Regions from separate parts of the Homo sapiens genome. Here region 2 is linked to region 1. The links are contacts of gene promoters, found by promoter capture Hi-C in blood cells and fetal thymus (Javierre and others, 2016). All regions are on one chromosome and are shown on one strand. The core of a region is centred on a gene start or on the middle of the fragment in contact, and the rest is flanking DNA. Distances in the headings are between cores, read along the strand shown. Region 1 holds the start of ZSWIM6 (zinc finger SWIM-type containing 6). Region 2 holds the start of PDE4D-AS1 (PDE4D antisense RNA 1).

Region 1 (3,743 bases), core at 932-3,431:
GATGCGTCCAAATCTATCCCCATTCATTCGGTGCCGGGTTCACCATGCTACAATTTCAAGTACACTAACATGGGAGGGGGTCAGAAAATATGCCATTTGCAATCAGGAGAAAAAAATGGGAAGTTTCACTACAGCATTGTTCTTTTCAGTCTGGCTCAAACATTCCCATCGCTATGGCTGAAAAAGATCTGGACAGGGGAAAAAGAACATTTTAGGGGAGGGGGAACAGGAGACACTTTTAAACTAAGGTATTTGAGAAAACTCTCAGGATCTGTCAGAGAAAGGAAGGCTGTGCAGCTCTAAATCACAAGTCCTTCTCTCGCCTTTGTCAAATATATTCTACTTTACAAGCCCTGAAAAGAAAGAGACTCTTTTGTTTGGTTTCTCCTTTTCGGAGGGTGACAGAAAACTGAAAGGGGCACAAAAAAACCTGAAAATGAGAACAAAGTGCTGGGTCGTGCCGGGCTGCCGCGCCGCGGGGACGCGGGAGCGGCCGCCGAGCCCTCTGCCTCGCGCTCCTGCAGCCCGCTCGCCCCTTTGGCTGCGAGCGGCAAATCCGCAACTGCCGACCGCGGCTCGCCCGGGGCACCACGACCTGACCACACAGCGCAAACAAAACTCGGGCGGCGGGGCACAAGGGCTGCGCCGCGGCCCGCACAGGGGTGTCTGGAGGCAGCTTCAGAGAAAAGGGAAGCGCTAGCAGCTCCTCCTCAGGCTCGCGCCCTTTAATTAGTAAGCGTCCTACGGGCGAGATGTCCCTCCGGAGACGGAGTCCGGTCCGCCGCCACCTCTCCTCTGCGCCGCTTGGAGACTGAGGAGGCGCAAAGAAAACGACATTTAAACCCCGGGCGGCCAGTGGAGCTCGCCCGGGCCAGACGCCACAGCGACCCGGGAGCGCCGCGGCCGCTCGCCCGTCGGAGCCCTGGGAGGAGCGGCGGCCGAGCGGCTTTAAGTGTATTCCCCTCCCCTCAAATCGCGTGGGGCGGGGGCCAGAAAGAAAAAGGAGCGAGCGACAGGCAGTGGGAGAGGGGGGGAGCGCCGAGCGGCCGGGCCGCGGCCGGCATTGTCTGCGGCCCGCGCCCCCTCCCCCGCCCCGCACAGCCCCGCCACACACACCCTCGCCGGAGGCCGGCCGTCCGCCCGCGCCTTTGTCCACATCCACCCCCGAAACCGGCGAACAGCCCTCCAGGATGTGCTCCCCGGAGGAGGGCGGGTAGGGGAGCGCGGGCCGGGGGCGCGGAGCCCACGGAGGGGCGCGTCCTGCTGATTCATTTCCCACTCGCGCTGGCCCGTCCGGGGCGACGGGGGGCAGGGAAGGGAGGGAGGAAATGGGCGCTCCGCTCAGGAGGACCGTCCGGGCCAGTGAGGACACCCGCAGGGGTGCGGGCGCGCGCGGAACTAGGGGCTGTCCGCAGGAGAAAGGCGGGCACCCCCCCCCCACCCAGGGACTGACGGACGGACAGACGGCTCGCGGCTGCCCCGTGACTCACCGACTTGCAGGACGTTGTCTACGCAGCCGCTTTCCAACAGCGCGATGCCCCGGCGGAAAGGCAGCCGCGTCTCGTCGCCGCCGTCCGCCGCCCCGGCAGCCCCCACCGACGGGGCCCCGGCCCCCGCGGCGGCGGCGGCGGCGGCGGCGGCGGCGGCAGCGGCGGCGGCGGCCGAGGTTGCGGCCGCCGAGGTTGCGGCCGGGGAAGACGAGGAGCCGCCGCCGCCGCCGCCGCCCGCGCCGCCGCCGCCACCGCTGTCGTCGCCGGGGCCGCCCGCGGCGCCGCCGCCGGTGTTGAAGGACGAGTACATGCAGATCTCCCGCTCGCTGCGGGGGAAGGACCAATAGACTATGCGGCGCTGCACCGGCTCCGGGATGCGCTCAAAGCGCTCCTCCACGCGCTGGAACGGCCACTTCTCCGCCACCCTGCGCGCCGCGATGTCCAGCAGCGACTCGGGGCTCTGGGTCTTGCCCGGCGGCAGCAACCCCAGCGCCGCGCCGCCCCCGCACGCCGCCGCCGCCGCCGCGCCACCCGCCCGCGGGCCTGGCCGACAGGCAGAGCTGTAGCCGCCACCCGCGCCGCCGCCGCCGCCGCTGCTGCCCCCGCCGCCGCCGCCGCCGCCCGGCCGGCAGCAAAGCCGTTTCGCGGGAGGAGGCTGCTGTCCGCGCTCCGCCATGACCGCGCCGCTTCTAACCCGACAGCGGAAGTGCCGGGACCCTATAAACGGCACTAGGAAGCGCGACACGCACACGCCGTCGCGACGCCACGATGCCATCTAGGGCCCGCCGCTCCTTGTATGGGCACAAGAGGTGGGGCCTCCGCTGTGACGCAGAAGCTGGGGCGGGGCTCTGATAGGGGGAACCTAGGGCCGGGGGCGGGGCCTATGCAAATCGCTGGGCTGAAACATAAATAGAGCGCTTGGCGGACACGGGGGTGGCGGGGGCGGGCCGTTTTGGTGCCCGGTGGGTTGTGAGAATGTCAGGCTGCTGTGACGCGGGGGAGGGCGGGGTCAGGCGGGGTTCCCGTGGGAGGGGGCGGGCCGCCGGGCCGGGCCTGAGGTGGGTGGGTCTCTGCGCCCCCTGCCTACCCCACTTCCCCCTCCAGTTCTCAGCTTCTCTTTGAAGTCCGAGAAGTGAGGATGCGCCTCGTGGGTCGCAGCGGGGGAGGAAAGGGGAGAAGAGGGGGTGAGCGAAGGGGAGGGTTCTGAGCTAAATGGAGGGCGGGGCCCACGGGCCGATGCCCCACCCCCCCCGTCCCCCTGCCCTTCGGGGGAAAAGCCTCTGGGCGGAGGAGGCGCTTTCAAAACAAAGAAATGCGGCATGGACCCCGGGGGACGCGGGTGGAGAGGAAGGCGGAGGAGGCGCGGCCAAACCCGAGCGCCTGCCAGCTTCCCCTCCAGCCGGTCCAGGGGAGCTCTCCCCACCACCCGCCGAAGCTGCAGCGGGGAAGGGGGAGGATGGCTGCGTTCGGCGGCGGCTTTCCACTTCACTTTTGCAGACCTGGTGTGGAAGGAGCGCGCCCGCTCTGCTAACCCCGCGTGGCTGCAGTGCGCCCATCCCCGAGCCCCGCGTCCGTTCTGTCTCGGCTGCAGGGCTGTGCCCGAAAACACGCAGAGCGCTCGGAACGTGCCCAGCAGCCGCGCGACCCGCGTCCGGTGCCGGCTGCCACCGTCCCGCCCTCGCTGCCTCAGCCCCTCGGGCCAGGAAACCGACCCGCCCGCTAGAAGTCGAGGAGCTCCGGCCGCCCTTGTCGCCCCCGCGGCCGCGCGGACAAGGCCCCGCTCCAGGCCGGGGTTTCTCCAGCTCGGGGTGGAACGCAGCCCGGGCTGTGGGGTTAGCAGACACACCTTTGTGAGTACACACGCCGCAGGGCGCGCGCAAGCCCCACGGGCTCGCGCACACATCGCCCAGCAGGCGGCAGACGGCGTGCCAGGCGGCGGACGGCGGCTTCGGGCGCACTTGGGTCTGCGGCCCGGCTCCCACCCCGGCACCCGGGTGCGCGGCGCCCGGCTGCGCGGAGTCCAGGCGCTCGGGACGCGCGCCGCGCTCTCAGTCGCCTTGGCGGCGCCCGCAGGGCCAGTCCCCTCGGGTCCGGGCAGTGTAGGGGTGGACCAGGGAGAGCGAGTGCAGAGTGCAGCTCGCTGGTGCCTGGACGCGGGCGAAGGCGGAGAAGCGAGTCCCTCTCTGAACCTGGAGCCCTGCGGACATTGTTCGCGCTCCACAGAGCTCGGTCAAATCTGCTTCCAAGCCGCAG
Region 2 (3,743 bases), core at 805-3,304, 2.3 Mb after region 1:
AATATAATGTGTGGAGCCACATCCTGTTAGATTTGAAGCCTGAGTCTGAACAGCTTTGGGAACTTGGTGAAGATGGAGGAAGGGGGCAGTTTACTTAGCTACTGGGAAATCACTTGAGGCTCAGGCTTTGAGAAAGTTGGAGTGCAGGGGAGAGGAGCCACAGAAAGCCGAACCTCAGAGGGGACTCCCAGCTTCATTGTAACCAATGATTGAAAAGATGGCACTGAACAAATCCCAGACACAATGGTTATGCATCTTTAATCCACTGGATAGGCTAACTATGGACAGCTCAAATGATCATAAAACAAGTCAATGTCCTCTTAAAATTTCCTACATTCCTATATTATGGGAATGAGAGAGAGAGGAAAATATCAAAACCAAACCATATAGTAGATGCACTACCATGGCAACTAGGTGATGCTATACTTGCATATGGAAGTTATTCAGTAAAATGAAAATGATTGTGTTAGAGCCATAGGCGAAAGTATTGTTTGTGATCTTTAGGGTGTGGGGTTACAATGGACTTCCTATATTTGTGTGTAATGCTTCAATTTTTATAACAAGCATGTAATATTTTTTACATTCTTAGAATTGGGGAAGCTATACAGAGCAGGTATTTTATATTTACCATTTAAAATTATTAATATCTTTAAGCTTGTTAAGGGGGAAAAAAAAGCTTCAATCTGAAACTTTAATTCACCTGGCAAGGTTTAGGCAGTTGTTTGTCCATCTAAAGTATATATTTACATAGACTGCGGGGTGGAGGAAGTAGAACAAAAAAGAGGCAAATTTTAACCTAGAGTACTCAAAGTGAACAGTAAATAGTTCAAGTATTCTTGATAACAATAAGCCACGTGGCACATGTAACAACTACTTTAAAAGTTACTCTAACTTTTACAAAGTTCACATAAAAAGCTATCTCAAAAATCCCAGGAGCCTAAATTCAGTCCATGAACTTTATTTGTTGTGCCATGTTAATTTATGGAGTCTAAATTTCAAGGGCAGAATTTCTTCTCCAATACCTGTAGATTCAAAGACAAAGACAAGGGATCCCACCACTTAGTGTAAGTTTCTCAGTATCTTCTTTCCACTCGACAATGACAAAGTTTTATCAAATGGACCCTTGGGAGTTTGACTTCTCCTCACTATGAATGGTTTGCTTATTGCATGCTAATGTAGAAAAGTTCTCCCACAACTGATCTGCTTAGGGACAGTGTCCCTGGTGCCCTGGGTCAGCCTTTGTAAACAGAACAGGCTTTTCTGTATGCCTTTGAATATGGTCTTTCCGTTTTCTCAAAATTGTAGTGTACTCTGCACATGGTGGGTAGAAACACCCTTCCAGATTTTCTTCCTTGGCCCAAGATCATCTAGGTCTTATGCAATTCACAGGGGAAAGGAGTAGTATGCAGGACATGCGTAAATTCTCCTTACCATGTGGTTCTTTCACATTGCTGTTCCTTTAAGAGAACTCTTAGGCAATTCGGCATATGAAAATGCAGCCTATTGTCAAATTTGTGAATTATAAAGCGTTCCGACCCCACAACATTGTATATTTTGTTTGCTTGTTTCTGTCCGCCCCAACATTTAGAAGTCTGGTACTTAGTAGGGACTGGGCTGGGTAGAAAAAGAATGCGGTCTTAATTCCCACAACCCTGCCTCCTTGAAGTAGGTGAATCCTAAGCCTTTAGAAACGAACCCCCAGAAACCCTAAAACTTAAACCCTCAGAAACCTTGAGGGTCCTAAATAACCTTGTTTGTGAAACTTCGCAGGAAGCAGCCGGTCGTGGAGTCGCAGAGGCTCCAGCGGTCTGGGCAACCTGGAGGGCAGTGGCTCGGCGGGGCGCGCGGGGTTCTAGCGAGACAGGTGCGCGGCCGTGCGCGCCTGCGTGCCGGTCCCTCCTGAGCCCCGCGGCGGGCGCGACCCCGGACGGCGGACTGCAGGCGCTCCACGCCGGGTTTTCCGCCGCTCTCCTAGCACAGACAGTCCCACAGCAGCCCCACAGACACACACGCTCGCGCCCGCGCCTCCTCGTCTGCACTTCAAAGCGAGTGGCGCCCGGCTGCGCCGGGGGGATGGCACTGCGAGGTGGCGGGGCCCCCGGGGCAGAGCTCGAGGGGAAGGACGCGGCGGGTGGCACGGACAGGGACAGGCTTTTGCAATTCGGAATCTTTTCGTAAGGGGGTTGAGGAGGAGCCAGGCAGCGCCGAGGGCCGAGAGGGGCGTGAGGGGGAGTGTTCCCGGAAAGCTGCGGCGTTGGAGCCGCGCTGCGCCTGCCGCCCGAGGAGTTGAGAAAGAAAACAGGAAACGTGGTGGCCGCGCACCCGGCCGCGGCTGATTCATTCACTTCAAGTGCCGTGCAGAAGGCTCGGCAGGCGGGGCGGGCGTGGGGCCGCGGCTCCGGGTTGGGGACCGAGGAGATCCGGCTGTGGACCAGACGCTCCTCTGCGGGGCGGGCACCCAAGCGCGCTCGCCACCCCCTCGCCATCCGCTAGAGCCGGGCTCCTGGACTGGGACTCGGGCCCGCCGCACAGTTGAAAAGTCGCATAGTGGTTTTTCCGCTCGCGTCGCTGTGTGAAAGTTGGCTCGCCGCTCTTTGCACGCCCTCCCTGGAGGCCGACCCGAGACGCCAAGCTGGAGAGACCGTGCCTCCCCGAGGCCGGCCGCCCCGCGAGCACAGCCTCCGCCCCCGTTGCACTGCCGGGCTGGGCAATATGAAGGAGCAGCCCTCATGTGCCGGCACCGGGCATCCGAGCATGGCGGGGTATGGCAGGATGGCCCCCTTTGAACTCGCTAGCGGACCCGTGAAGCGCTTGAGAACTGAGTCCCCCTTTCCCTGTCTCTTCGCAGAGGAGGCCTACCAGAAACTGGCCAGCGAGACCCTGGAGGAGCTGGACTGGTGTCTGGACCAGCTAGAGACCCTACAGACCAGGCACTCCGTCAGTGAGATGGCCTCCAACAAGGTAAGCCCCGGTTCTGCTGTCACTGGTGCCCCCAGGCTGCTGATTCCCATGCCGGCGAGCCACTGGTACCCATAGCCCCGGGAAATAAATTGAGAGGTTTTTTAGGCTTACTGCATGTTGGCTATTCTGCTCCTTAGAGGGAGGTTCCTGTTTCCTTGCTTTGCCTCCCCTAGTCACGCCAGATAAACATTTTCCAAAAGCAATTTGACGTGCTAAATTTAAGTATCTCCCAAGACACAGGGTTCCTAAGTAACACTGAGCCCTTGCAGCAGAAACCCAGTAGGGTCCATGGGCATTGCATGTTTAAAGGTGTTCTTGGGATTCCCGGTTGAAAATAAGAATTGGTGGATGTCTGTGAAATCACTTGAATGTCACCACCTAGGGCACTCAAACTCAGAAGAGTTCATCGAACTTGGAACCTTCACCCTAATTCATCTAGTTGTCAGGGTACCCCGCAAGAACTGAGCCTTTATATATTCAGTTGGCCATACATATCCGCAGGAAACATTAACAGAGTTAGAAGGTTCCTTATGATCATTACTTTTGTTTCCATTAATCTTGGAAAGAAAGCCCAGTTTTTTGAGGTCATTTAGTACAAGGAGGCTTCAACTAGGCATCTGTGCCATATGTGCTAAGGTGCTGGTCTTGGCAGTTAATGGAGTTTTGAGGGCTGAGAAGTAACCTTCAGCCTGGGACAGCCTTAAAATAGCACGGAAGGCAAGGTATAGTGTTTTCAGTTTTGCTGTATTTTTTGGATTTCCTGTTCTTTTTGTCTTTAGTTA

The links. Contacts are between HindIII fragments. The CHiCAGO score rates a contact against its expected background, and 5 or more counts as called.
Region 2: the fragment with the promoter of PDE4D-AS1 here is called in contact with the fragment with the promoter of ZSWIM6 in region 1 in 3 of 17 cell types (fetal thymus, total CD4 T cells and naive CD4 T cells); the score reaches 8.5 in fetal thymus.

The regions. Positions count from the first base shown.
Region 1 is chr5:61,330,696-61,334,438 of GRCh38, reverse strand. It overlaps ZSWIM6 (zinc finger SWIM-type containing 6), which reads right to left and starts at 2,181. Exons shown (of 14, transcript NM_020928.2): 1 at 1,491-2,181. The coding sequence starts at 2,166. It overlaps LOC105378994 (a long non-coding RNA gene), which reads left to right and starts at 2,223. Exons shown (of 2, transcript XR_007058781.1): 1 at 2,223-2,299. RefSeq lists silencers at 1,287-1,396, 2,177-2,316, 2,427-2,826, 3,037-3,106, 3,137-3,716 and 2 more and an enhancer at 3,521-3,743. The HindIII fragment of the contact is 10,173 bases long and covers 1-3,743 here.
Region 2 is chr5:59,038,077-59,041,819 of GRCh38, reverse strand. It overlaps PDE4D-AS1 (PDE4D antisense RNA 1), which reads right to left and starts at 2,054. Exons shown (of 2, transcript NR_198970.1): 1 at 1,750-2,054. It overlaps PDE4D (phosphodiesterase 4D), which reads left to right. Exons shown (of 15, transcript NM_001104631.2): 6 at 2,849-2,961. RefSeq lists a silencer at 2,616-2,685. The HindIII fragment of the contact is 4,461 bases long and covers 679-3,743 here.